Regions from separate parts of the Homo sapiens genome. Here region 1 is linked to region 2. Evidence: promoter capture Hi-C in 16 types of primary human blood cells and fetal thymus (Javierre and others, 2016). All regions are on one chromosome and are shown on one strand. The core of a region is centred on a gene start or on the middle of the fragment in contact, and the rest is flanking DNA. Distances in the headings are between cores, read along the strand shown. Region 1 has its middle 19 kb from the start of JAKMIP2. Region 2 holds the start of ADRB2 (adrenoceptor beta 2).

The links. Contacts are between HindIII fragments. The CHiCAGO score rates a contact against its expected background, and 5 or more counts as called.
Region 1: a fragment that was not itself captured here is called in contact with the fragment with the promoter of ADRB2 in region 2 in 1 of 17 cell types (monocytes); the score reaches 5.6 in monocytes.

The regions. Positions count from the first base shown.
Region 1 is chr5:147,798,214-147,804,606 of GRCh38, forward strand. No RefSeq gene overlaps it. Among named protein-coding and RNA genes, the nearest start is that of JAKMIP2, 19 kb to the left of the region's middle. The HindIII fragment of the contact is 5,784 bases long and covers 1-4,216 here.
Region 2 is chr5:148,823,012-148,828,828 of GRCh38, forward strand. ADRB2 (adrenoceptor beta 2) reads left to right here and starts at 3,600. Exons shown (of 1, transcript NM_000024.6): 1 at 3,600-5,612. The coding sequence starts at 3,821. The coding sequence ends at 5,062. RefSeq lists enhancers at 2,899-3,058, 3,915-4,500 and silencers at 3,329-3,638, 3,729-3,868. The HindIII fragment of the contact is 9,818 bases long and covers 1-5,817 here.

The DNA of each region.
Region 1 (6,393 bases), core at 75-2,574, 1.0 Mb before region 2:
GTAAAGTGAAAGTCTCCTGGAAAGGATTCATTATTCTGGATGCCATGAAGATCATTCGACATTCATGGAAGGAAGTCAAAAGATCAACATTAGTAGGAGTTTTGAAGAACTTGATTCTACCCTTATGAATGATTTTGAGGATTCAAGACTTCAATGGAGGAAATAACTGCAGTTATGGTGGAAATAGCAAGAGCACTGGAATTAGAAGTAGACTCTGAAGATGTGCCTGTATTCCTGCTATCTCATGATACAACTTTCACAGATGAGGACGAGGAGTTGCATCTTATCGATGACCAAAGAAAAGTGGTTTCTTGAAATGAAAACTACCCCTGGTGAAGATGCTGTGAACCTTGTTGAAATAGCAGCAAGGCATTTATAGTATTACATCAATTTAGTTGATAAAGCAGTGGCAGGGTTTGAGAGGATTGGCTACAATTTTGAAAGAAGTTCCATTGTGAGTAAAATGCTTTCAAACAACATTGGTGGCTATAAAGAAATCTTTCATAAAAGGAAGAGTCGATTGTTGTGGCAGACTCCACTGTTGTCTTACTTTAAAATATTGCCACACCACTCCAGCCTTCAACAACTCCCACCCTGGTCAGTCAGCAGCATCAGTATCGAGGCAAGCAAACAATTATGACTTCCTGAATGCTCAGATGATCATTAGCATTTTTTAGCAACAAAATATTTTAAATTAAGCTATGCGCATTGTTTTTTTAAGGCATAATGCTATTGCACACTTAATAGACTGCAGTACAATGTAAACATAACTTTTATACGCACTGGGAAACAAAAAAAATTCCTGTGACTTGCTTTATTCTGATATTCACTTTATTGTGGTCTGGACCAAACCTGTAACTTCACTAAAGTATGCCCATATATAGGGTTCAGTACTTTCTGCAGCATTAGGCATCCACTGAGGCTGTTGGAACATATCCCCCAGATTAGGGGATAGAGGGGGCTACTGTATCTCTCTAATCAAGTGATCAAAGTTAACATCACCAAGAGTAGAATGAACAGACATCCTATATATCTCTCTCTCTTTGTTTTTTTGTTTTTGTTTGTTTGTTTGTTTGTTTGTTTTGACAGAATCTAACTCTGTCGCCCAGGCTGGAGTGCAGTGGCATGAACTTGGCTCACTGCAATCTCTGCCTCCTGGGTTCAAGTGATAAGTGATTTTCCTGCCTTAGCCTCCTGAGTAGCTGGGACTACAGGTGCATGCCACCACACTAGGCTAATTTTTGTATTTTTAGTAAAGACGGGGTCTCCCCATGTTGGCCCGGATGGCCTTGAACTCCCGACCTCAGGTGATCTGCCTGCCTCAGCCTCCCAAAGTGCTGAGATTACAGGCGTGAGCCACCACGCCTGGCCCTGTGTCTCCTTAACATCATGCACTCAAAAGGACACAGCATCACTTCTGAGGTATTTCTACCAAAATGCATAATCTGATTCTAATCAGATAAAATAAAAGTTTTGTTTCTGTAATTGGTTAACTCCCCCAAGAGGATAAAGCCAACCAATAAATGACTGAATAAAGAAAATGCACACAGTTAAGAGTAAATAAGTAAAGCAGACACTAGAAGAGATAGGAGATGAGATGTATGTTTTCTCCCTTTGACTCTGCAGGTCCTTCTTCATGGTTCATATGTGACAGGAGTACTCAGCTGAGTTTTTGAATGCCTGGGGTATCATCTTAGCCCTGGCCCTGGTCCAGCAACAATTTGCATTGTTGACCAAATTTTGATGTAATTATTTTCAGTAAAGTATAGTTCAAATGTCTTGTAGAGCCTACTTACATAAAAGAATTTAAAAAGAGCCAAACTCTGCATTTTCCATCCTCTTATAAATCTTACTGCATTGGCACTGATATAATTTTTAGACCAGTCCATGCTAAAAGGAGCATTCTTCAAGTATAGTGCAGTAAAGAGCATTTAGAATATGTTGTCTGAAATGGAGAAGAGTTTCCTACAAATAAGCACATAGGAAGAAAAATCCCAGTGAAAATGGCAGGGAGAGCAGGACTAACCAGTAGGTCAAGGCAAGCAAACACGGTGGGAACAAGTTAAAGGTAGGGGCAGATTGCAGGATCCAGGTTCTGCAATACCATCCAGACAACATTATGCAAATCTTTAAAAAGAAGCCTTTTAGTCAAAGTCTCCCATTGATATTTAAAGTAATCTCAAAGGCCTGAGAACCAGTATTTTTGACAAAAAGAAAATTCTCATATGCTTTAGTATAGATGCATCATCCCTGGTTTAAGCACTGAAAATTGGTAATTTTGTATTTACGTAATGGCTTTAGAAATACTAGATTTTATATCAAAGACTAGATTGATTTATGATCTAACATAAATAGTAACATAAAAGAGGTAACTTAAATAGCTCCCTCTTGTTCTAATGAAATATATTTTCCGTTGACTACAGACTGAGAGACATAGCAACAAGGAATGCAAACTCCTTTGATTCCATATGGTGAAATGAAAACCTTGGCTCATCCATCATTCTTTACCAGTTGCTTTGAGCAAATAAATGCAGAGTTCTATCCTAGGAGAAGTGACTCCAGTTTTCCTCGATTATCAATTCAAAATCCTCTTGTGTGTAGCAAGGAGGACATACCCATTTAAATTAAGTTGATCTGGGAGACCAATGTACATGTCTTAAACTTGGTCTGCCTGGGACAGCAGATACATCCAGCCACAACTACTGAGAAAACAGCAAGATAAACAGGTAAAGATAAGGATTTAGAAGCGGCATCAAGTGCATGCCTAAATGAACCTGGGACTTGGCAGTGAGAATTACAGACCTTAGCTGAGATGAAGGGAAGGGAACACTAAAAATAGCCTTGACCTTGATGTGAGTATGATGTGAGCCCGGGAAATCCTACCTGAATGCGTCTTTGTTTTACTGTGGCCCTTACCTTACATTTTCTGGCCAATGTTGTCCTTGATGGCCCTATATATGTGCTTTTCATTCTCTTACACATAAATTGATCTCTTCAAGTTCAGGGGGAGCAACTGATCCTAGGAATCCTTACGTATCCAAAGGCAATTGCTGATGATTGTCCTGGGGATGTTTAACCGGTTCCTATAAGGTGGAGGCATCATGCCGAAGAAACTTAAGTGTATACCCCTCTCTACTTTTTCATTTCCAAGGGGAATTAGACAGCTTGGGATTTCATGGATGTCCAAGGGTAGACATCAGAAGTCAGGAAGGACAGAGGCTGATGTTTCTATTGATGCTCAATTTTCTGTTTTCCTTTTCAAAGAAAGAAAAAGGAGTGGTCCCTAAAATTCTCTTATTCTGGTTAGCTGGTGTCAAGGCCACAGTGGGCATCATAAACACCACCAGGTCTTCCTGCCTAGGTCTTCTATGTTCTAAGAGTAACTTTGTGTTGGGCAATACAGGGCTGTCCAGGTTACATGGGTCATAGTGGAAAGGGCAGTGTTATCTGCTGGGTAAACTTCACCCCATCTAGGTAAATTTACAGGAAAGGGCAGAGTTATCTGCTGGGTAAAACTTCACCCTTTCTAGGTAAATTCACAATTTCCTCTCTTGAGACCAAAACGTAGACCTTCCCACTGCTAAACTAATTCTGCCATAGTGGCAAACTCTTCCTTAACTTTTTGCCTCCCACCTGAAACTGATCCCCAGATAATGCTATCTCAAGAAAGCAAGTGCTGCTCAGGGGTTTGGAGGCCTAACTCTCTGTCCTAGCCTGGCTTGGTGACACTCCAAGGGAGTATTTCACACATGTTCCTTAGAAGATGTTGAATTATTTCTCTTTTATCATTCATAACTTAATGTCATTGATACAAGTCTGTCTCCAGTATGTTTAATTGAAAGTACTTTACATCAGGTAAGTAACTTCTGGCCTTTGACTCTGAATGTTTGAGAGAAAAATTCTATCTAGATTTATAAAACTATCACTTGATAAGCCTCCTCCTTCCTAGTCAGATGGGTGAAATACTTATGTTAGTTCTTAAAGACACAATCTGTAGAGATGTGCTTCCCTCTCTTGCAATAGAACTGTAGCTTTACGTGGTAAGACTCGATAGGGAAAAGCAGGACTTACGCAGAGAAGTAACTGCATATGTTACACTGGGGCAGTCTTTGGAAGTGTGTTGGGAATAGAGATGTGAAATGAATGAGAACTGTACCACAGGAATGATATCTTTGAGAACAATATCTTCCTTGAAGATGACTTGCCCCAGTGCTTAAGCTTGCTTCCCCATGCCTTACGTGTTCCTCTGTTCCGGCCCTTGAGAAGCTCTGTTATATCACCATTCTATGGTATAAGCAGGAGATGCCAATAGACATCAGTTCCCAGTACCACATCCTTGCCTCTGTTGATGGCTGTGCTTTCTTTTTTAATGGGCAGTGGCCCTTTCTCCCATTCCACTGTATGTAGAATTTTATCTGTTGAACATAAGGAGCAGTTCATCCAGGGATCCCCTATGATTGGGACATTTTGCTGAGTTATGCTTATGATCAGCAGTAGTCCCATAGAGGAGGCTGCTGCAGGGTTGAATATCTTGGCACTCTATGCCTTTGGAGTCACAAAGGACAACCCATTAGCAGTAACAGCCAGGGTTAGGGAGTCTCTGGATGAGGAGAAGGCATCATTGGCATTCTTCTTCCTTCTCCAGACTTAGCATCCCCTCTTTGTACTATCTCACAGTTCCACCACATTCTTTAATTTTTCAACCTTTTTTTTCTTTCCTTAAGAGGATTCTGATTCAGCAGAGCAAAGAAGGGGAGTGGTGCTCCTTTTCTAGGATCCGTCAACACAGTAGCTTCATCTTCAGATAGGATTCTGACCCCTCACCCTCAGCTTGGACCAATAACTTGCCTAACCATCCCCTTCAGAGCTTCCCAGATTTGTATTTAAGTACCTATCCCTGGTACTTAAATTCCCAGATAACTAAATGATATGTGATAATTCCAAGTTAATTGAATTACATTTGAATTGCAGTTCTATAGACTTTGGAACTTCTATTCTTTCCATGGCAGGGGAATGTGCACAGATAATGATATGGTTTGGCTGTGTCCTCACCGAAACCAAATTGAATTGTATCTCACAGAATTCCCACGTGTTGTGGGAGGGACTCAGGGGAAGGTAATTGAATCACGGGGGCCAGTATTTCCTGTGCTATTCTCATGATAGTGAATAAGTCTCACAAGATCTGATGGGTTTACCAGAGGTTTCCACTTTTCTTCTTCCTCATTTTTCTCTTGCCACTGGCATGTAAGAAGGGCCTTTCACCTCCTGCCATGATTCTGAGGCCTCCCTAGCCATGTGGAACTGTAAATCCAATTAAACCTCTTTTTCTTCCCAGTCTTCTGTATGTTTTTGTCAGCAGTCTGAAAACAGACTAATACAGATCATGCTTATAATGTCTGGTAAACTAAGTTTTAGTTGTAGATTCAGATGTTGGGATAATGGGACTACATTGTCAGTGACCTTGACCATGGGAGGGAGATACTGAACTATGTCTCTCTGGGAATGGAGCCATAATACAGGGAGGGAGAATGAGTAGAAAAAAAGGTGCAAAATACTCTAGAATAATAGAGGTCTCATTAGAGAGTAGGGGAGGGAGAATGAGAAAGTGAATGAGAGAGAGAGAAAGAGAGATGTTAGAGAAGAGGGACAAAAGAAGAGAATAGATAGAAACATCCAATCCCTTATAGCAGTCAGACAGCCTCACTTCTATTGATTCTTTTTTTCTTAAACCATTTAATTTCATAAGCAAATAATTTGCATACTTCAGTTTACATAATTATTTTAATTCTTTGGACAAGCTTATATTCATTATTTCACTTTTAAGGACACTTACCCTGAAGGGTAATTTTAACTTGCCTAAGATCACATGACTGCTTTTTCATTGTGAATCACTGTTTCTCTGGGTGAGATGGTCAGCCCAATTTCCCAAACAATATTCCAGTCTAGCGTGGAAAATTGTGACTAGAAAGAGCAAACAACCTTGGAAAATAGTTTTATTACACATTATATAAATGAGAGATTCATATCTATGTCAGTTAGTGCCAAGCCCAGAAATCAGAGGTCATTCTAAATATTTCAAGCAAAGAGGGATTTAATGCAGACAATTGGTTACAGTGCTCTTAGAAACACAGAAAGAACACAAAAAAGAAGAGTGTTATAAAGACACTGGAAGCTGCGATTGAACCTGGACTGAAGCCTAGCTGCCCTTGCCCTCTGTCTGCTGGAGGTGCTGCCATTGATGCTGAAACTGCATCCGGGCAACTGAGCAGGAAAGTTAGGAGTTTATCTTCCTGCTGCTGCGGCTGAATGCATGACTGCTGCTTTTACAGCTGGATCCACACCACTGCAGCTGAGCAGGAAATGCAGGAGTTTATGATCCTGCTGTTGCTGCTG
Region 2 (5,817 bases), core at 2,350-4,849:
CCCCGGATGGAGTGCAGTGGCACAATCTCGGCTCACTGCAACCTCCACCTCCCAGGTTCAAGCGATTCTCCTGTTTCAGCCCCCAGAGTAGGTCAGACTACAGGCATGCCACAACTTCTGGCTAATTTTTGTATTTTTATTAGAGACGAAGTTTCACCATGTTGGTCAGGCTGCTCTCGAAGTCCTGACCTCAGGTGATCCACCCACCTCAGCCTCCCAAAGTGCTAGGATTACAGGCATGAGCCACTGCGCCCGGTCTGTTTCCTGATGTGTTAATGATCGCCATTGTATCTGGTGTGAGATGGTATTTCATTGTGGTTTTGATTTGCATTTCACTAATAACCAGTGCTGATGATCTTTTCTTCATATGTTTGTTGGCTGCATTAATGTCTTCTTTTGAGAAGTGTCTGTTCATATCCTTTGCCCACTTTTTCATGGGGCTGTTTGTTTTTTCTTGTAAATTTGTTTAAGTTCTTTGTAGATTCTGGATATTAGCCCTTTGTCAGATGGATAGATTGCAAAATTTTTCCCCCTTTCTGTAGGTTGCCTGTTCACCCTGATGATAGTTTATTTTGCTGTGCAGAAACTCTTTAGTTTAATTAGATCCCATTTGTCAATTTTGGCTTTTGTTGCCATTGCTTTTGATGTTTTAGTCATGAAGTCTTTGCCCATGCCTATGTCCTGGATGTTATTGCCTAGATTTTCTTCTAGGGTTTTTATGGTTTTAGGTCTTACGTTTAAGTCTTTAATTCATCTTGAGTTAATTCTTGTATAAGGTGTAAGGAAGGGGTCCAGTTTCAGTTTTCTGCATATGGCTAGCCAGTCCTTCTTGATTTAGTATTTGTGGGTTTTAAAAAAGGAGTTTCCCAAAATATTCAGTTAAACTTTTAAGTGACTTACGTGTATATCTAAATACATGATCAGTTAATATTTGTCTTAAAGGGGTTTTCTTTGTTCTTTTCTTATTATAGGAAGGTTAAACAATATGCTTATTTATGCCATAGCTTCACAAACAGGAAGGAGGTTTTAAATGGTTTAGTTCCACAATTTGAGTAGATGCATATTTAAAGAAACGTTGTTGCATAATAAATACTGCCTCTTCCTAAAATGCATCATGCCACAGCCAATTTTGGAAAACACAAATATGAGGTGAGTGTATTTTGAAAACTATGTGAATATAATAGATCTTTAATTCATATTTGTGGATTTTATGGGAAATACTTGTTTTCTAAGGCATCTGTCTTGCAAAAAGTCAGTTTCTGCTATGAAGGATGTTAAAGGGGATATGTAGGTTAAATTCTGTTTCTGAGCTTTGCTTCCAGAGTAAACACCCAACTTACTTTTGCCCTAAAGTATTTTATTGTTCTAGTAGAGAAGACTAACAACATATTCTAAACCACTAAGTAATTTATGTAAACTTCGCTTACAAACTACACTTGTGTGACACTTATATGAGCAAAAGCATTTTCATATTTCTTACTATATCATTCAATTCTTGCTTACCCCAATGGAAGTGACTTTATGCCCCTTTAGAGACAATGGAAATCAGGTACTTCGTGATTTCTCTTAAAAAAAAAAAAAATGAACTAGAAAGCTCCAAGTTTGGTGAATCTGGAACCTGGGTATTCCAGTTCCAGTTGTAGCCCTTCCTCCCTATCCATCACTCCTGTCTGCATGTAATTATGCAATACATTGAAAAGATTAAAAGATGGGTCTTGGACTCAGGCAGACCTGGGTCAAATCCAGATTCTGGCACTGCCCAGCCATTGCCCCTGGGCAAGCCATTTTCCTCTTTGAACCTCATTTGTGAATTAAGCTAAAAATAGTCCCCACCCCCATGGGACTGTGGGAAGGATTAAATAGAATAATGCATGAAAAGCAAATAGCAGAATGGTCCATAAATGTTAACCATTGTTATGTTATTATGTAATCTACAAAGTACGTTTAGTTACACTTCATGAAATACTTTCAGTTTTTCAAAGACACCACTAATACATGGGAAATCAAACCCTGAAAATTAATTTCACTTTAGCAGTAAAGTCACATGCCAGATGGAAAGGATAGTATTTCATGAACAAAGATCTTACTTTTGAGATTTGGTCTTACTTTTTTCTTTTTCTTAAGGGAGAATTATCTTGTGTTTTTTGTTTTGTTTTGTTTTGAGATGGAGTCTTGTTCTGTCACCCAGGCTGGAGCGCAGTGACGTGATCTCGGCTCACTGCAACCTTCACCTCCCGGGTTCAAGAGATTCTCCTGTCTCAGCCTCCCGAGTAGCTGGGACTACAGGTACGTGCCACCACACCTGGCTAATTTTTGTATTTTTAGTAGAGACAAGAGTTACACCATATTGGCCAGGATCTTTTGCTTTCTATAGCTTCAAAATGTTCTTAATGTTAAGACATTCTTAATACTCTGAACCATATGAATTTGCCATTTTGGTAAGTCACAGACGCCAGATGGTGGCAATTTCACATGGCACAACCCGAAAGATTAACAAACTATCCAGCAGATGAAAGGATTTTTTTTAGTTTCATTGGGTTTACTGAAGAAATTGTTTGAATTCTCATTGCATCTCCAGTTCAACAGATAATGAGTGAGTGATGCCACACTCTCAAGAGTTAAAAACAAAACAACAAAAAAATTAAAACAAAAGCACACAACTTTCTCTCTCTGTCCCAAAATACATACTTGCATACCCCCGCTCCAGATAAAATCCAAAGGGTAAAACTGTCTTCATGCCTGCAAATTCCTAAGGAGGGCACCTAAAGTACTTGACAGCGAGTGTGCTGAGGAAATCAGCAGCTGTTGAAGTCACCTCCTGTGCTCTTGCCAAATGTTTGAAAGGGAATACACTGGGTTACCGGGTGTATGTTGGGAGGGGAGCATTATCAGTGCTCGGGTGAGGCAAGTTCGGAGTACCCAGATGGAGACATCCGTGTCTGTGTCGCTCTGGATGCCTCCAAGCCAGCGTGTGTTTACTTTCTGTGTGTGTCACCATGTCTTTGTGCTTCTGGGTGCTTCTGTGTTTGTTTCTGGCCGCGTTTCTGTGTTGGACAGGGGTGACTTTGTGCCGGATGGCTTCTGTGTGAGAGCGCGCGCGAGTGTGCATGTCGGTGAGCTGGGAGGGTGTGTCTCAGTGTCTATGGCTGTGGTTCGGTATAAGTCTGAGCATGTCTGCCAGGGTGTATTTGTGCCTGTATGTGCGTGCCTCGGTGGGCACTCTCGTTTCCTTCCGAATGTGGGGCAGTGCCGGTGTGCTGCCCTCTGCCTTGAGACCTCAAGCCGCGCAGGCGCCCAGGGCAGGCAGGTAGCGGCCACAGAAGAGCCAAAAGCTCCCGGGTTGGCTGGTAAGGACACCACCTCCAGCTTTAGCCCTCTGGGGCCAGCCAGGGTAGCCGGGAAGCAGTGGTGGCCCGCCCTCCAGGGAGCAGTTGGGCCCCGCCCGGGCCAGCCCCAGGAGAAGGAGGGCGAGGGGAGGGGAGGGAAAGGGGAGGAGTGCCTCGCCCCTTCGCGGCTGCCGGCGTGCCATTGGCCGAAAGTTCCCGTACGTCACGGCGAGGGCAGTTCCCCTAAAGTCCTGTGCACATAACGGGCAGAACGCACTGCGAAGCGGCTTCTTCAGAGCACGGGCTGGAACTGGCAGGCACCGCGAGCCCCTAGCACCCGACAAGCTGAGTGTGCAGGACGAGTCCCCACCACACCCACACCACAGCCGCTGAATGAGGCTTCCAGGCGTCCGCTCGCGGCCCGCAGAGCCCCGCCGTGGGTCCGCCCGCTGAGGCGCCCCCAGCCAGTGCGCTCACCTGCCAGACTGCGCGCCATGGGGCAACCCGGGAACGGCAGCGCCTTCTTGCTGGCACCCAATGGAAGCCATGCGCCGGACCACGACGTCACGCAGGAAAGGGACGAGGTGTGGGTGGTGGGCATGGGCATCGTCATGTCTCTCATCGTCCTGGCCATCGTGTTTGGCAATGTGCTGGTCATCACAGCCATTGCCAAGTTCGAGCGTCTGCAGACGGTCACCAACTACTTCATCACTTCACTGGCCTGTGCTGATCTGGTCATGGGCCTGGCAGTGGTGCCCTTTGGGGCCGCCCATATTCTTATGAAAATGTGGACTTTTGGCAACTTCTGGTGCGAGTTTTGGACTTCCATTGATGTGCTGTGCGTCACGGCCAGCATTGAGACCCTGTGCGTGATCGCAGTGGATCGCTACTTTGCCATTACTTCACCTTTCAAGTACCAGAGCCTGCTGACCAAGAATAAGGCCCGGGTGATCATTCTGATGGTGTGGATTGTGTCAGGCCTTACCTCCTTCTTGCCCATTCAGATGCACTGGTACCGGGCCACCCACCAGGAAGCCATCAACTGCTATGCCAATGAGACCTGCTGTGACTTCTTCACGAACCAAGCCTATGCCATTGCCTCTTCCATCGTGTCCTTCTACGTTCCCCTGGTGATCATGGTCTTCGTCTACTCCAGGGTCTTTCAGGAGGCCAAAAGGCAGCTCCAGAAGATTGACAAATCTGAGGGCCGCTTCCATGTCCAGAACCTTAGCCAGGTGGAGCAGGATGGGCGGACGGGGCATGGACTCCGCAGATCTTCCAAGTTCTGCTTGAAGGAGCACAAAGCCCTCAAGACGTTAGGCATCATCATGGGCACTTTCACCCTCTGCTGGCTGCCCTTCTTCATCGTTAACATTGTGCATGTGATCCAGGATAACCTCATCCGTAAGGAAGTTTACATCCTCCTAAATTGGATAGGCTATGTCAATTCTGGTTTCAATCCCCTTATCTACTGCCGGAGCCCAGATTTCAGGATTGCCTTCCAGGAGCTTCTGTGCCTGCGCAGGTCTTCTTTGAAGGCCTATGGGAATGGCTACTCCAGCAACGGCAACACAGGGGAGCAGAGTGGATATCACGTGGAACAGGAGAAAGAAAATAAACTGCTGTGTGAAGACCTCCCAGGCACGGAAGACTTTGTGGGCCATCAAGGTACTGTGCCTAGCGATAACATTGATTCACAAGGGAGGAATTGTAGTACAAATGACTCACTGCTGTAAAGCAGTTTTTCTACTTTTAAAGACCCCCCCCCCCAACAGAACACTAAACAGACTATTTAACTTGAGGGTAATAAACTTAGAATAAAATTGTAAAATTGTATAGAGATATGCAGAAGGAAGGGCATCCTTCTGCCTTTTTTATTTTTTTAAGCTGTAAAAAGAGAGAAAACTTATTTGAGTGATTATTTGTTATTTGTACAGTTCAGTTCCTCTTTGCATGGAATTTGTAAGTTTATGTCTAAAGAGCTTTAGTCCTAGAGGACCTGAGTCTGCTATATTTTCATGACTTTTCCATGTATCTACCTCACTATTCAAGTATTAGGGGTAATATATTGCTGCTGGTAATTTGTATCTGAAGGAGATTTTCCTTCCTACACCCTTGGACTTGAGGATTTTGAGTATCTCGGACCTTTCAGCTGTGAACATGGACTCTTCCCCCACTCCTCTTATTTGCTCACACGGGGTATTTTAGGCAGGGATTTGAGGAGCAGCTTCAGTTGTTTTCCCGAGCAAAGTCTAAAGTTTACAGTAAATAAATTGTTTGACCATGCCTTCATTGCACCTGTTTCTCCAAAACCCCTTGACTGGAGTGCTGTTGCCTCCCCCACTGGAAACCGCAGGTAACTACTTGTAATTACTGCCCATGACTTAATGTAGAATGATACAAGAATGACATGCACAGATTGCTTAACCCTTTCATTTGCCTTTGAGTCTGCTGCTGCAAAGCTGCATCTCTCCTGACACTTGTGCCCCAA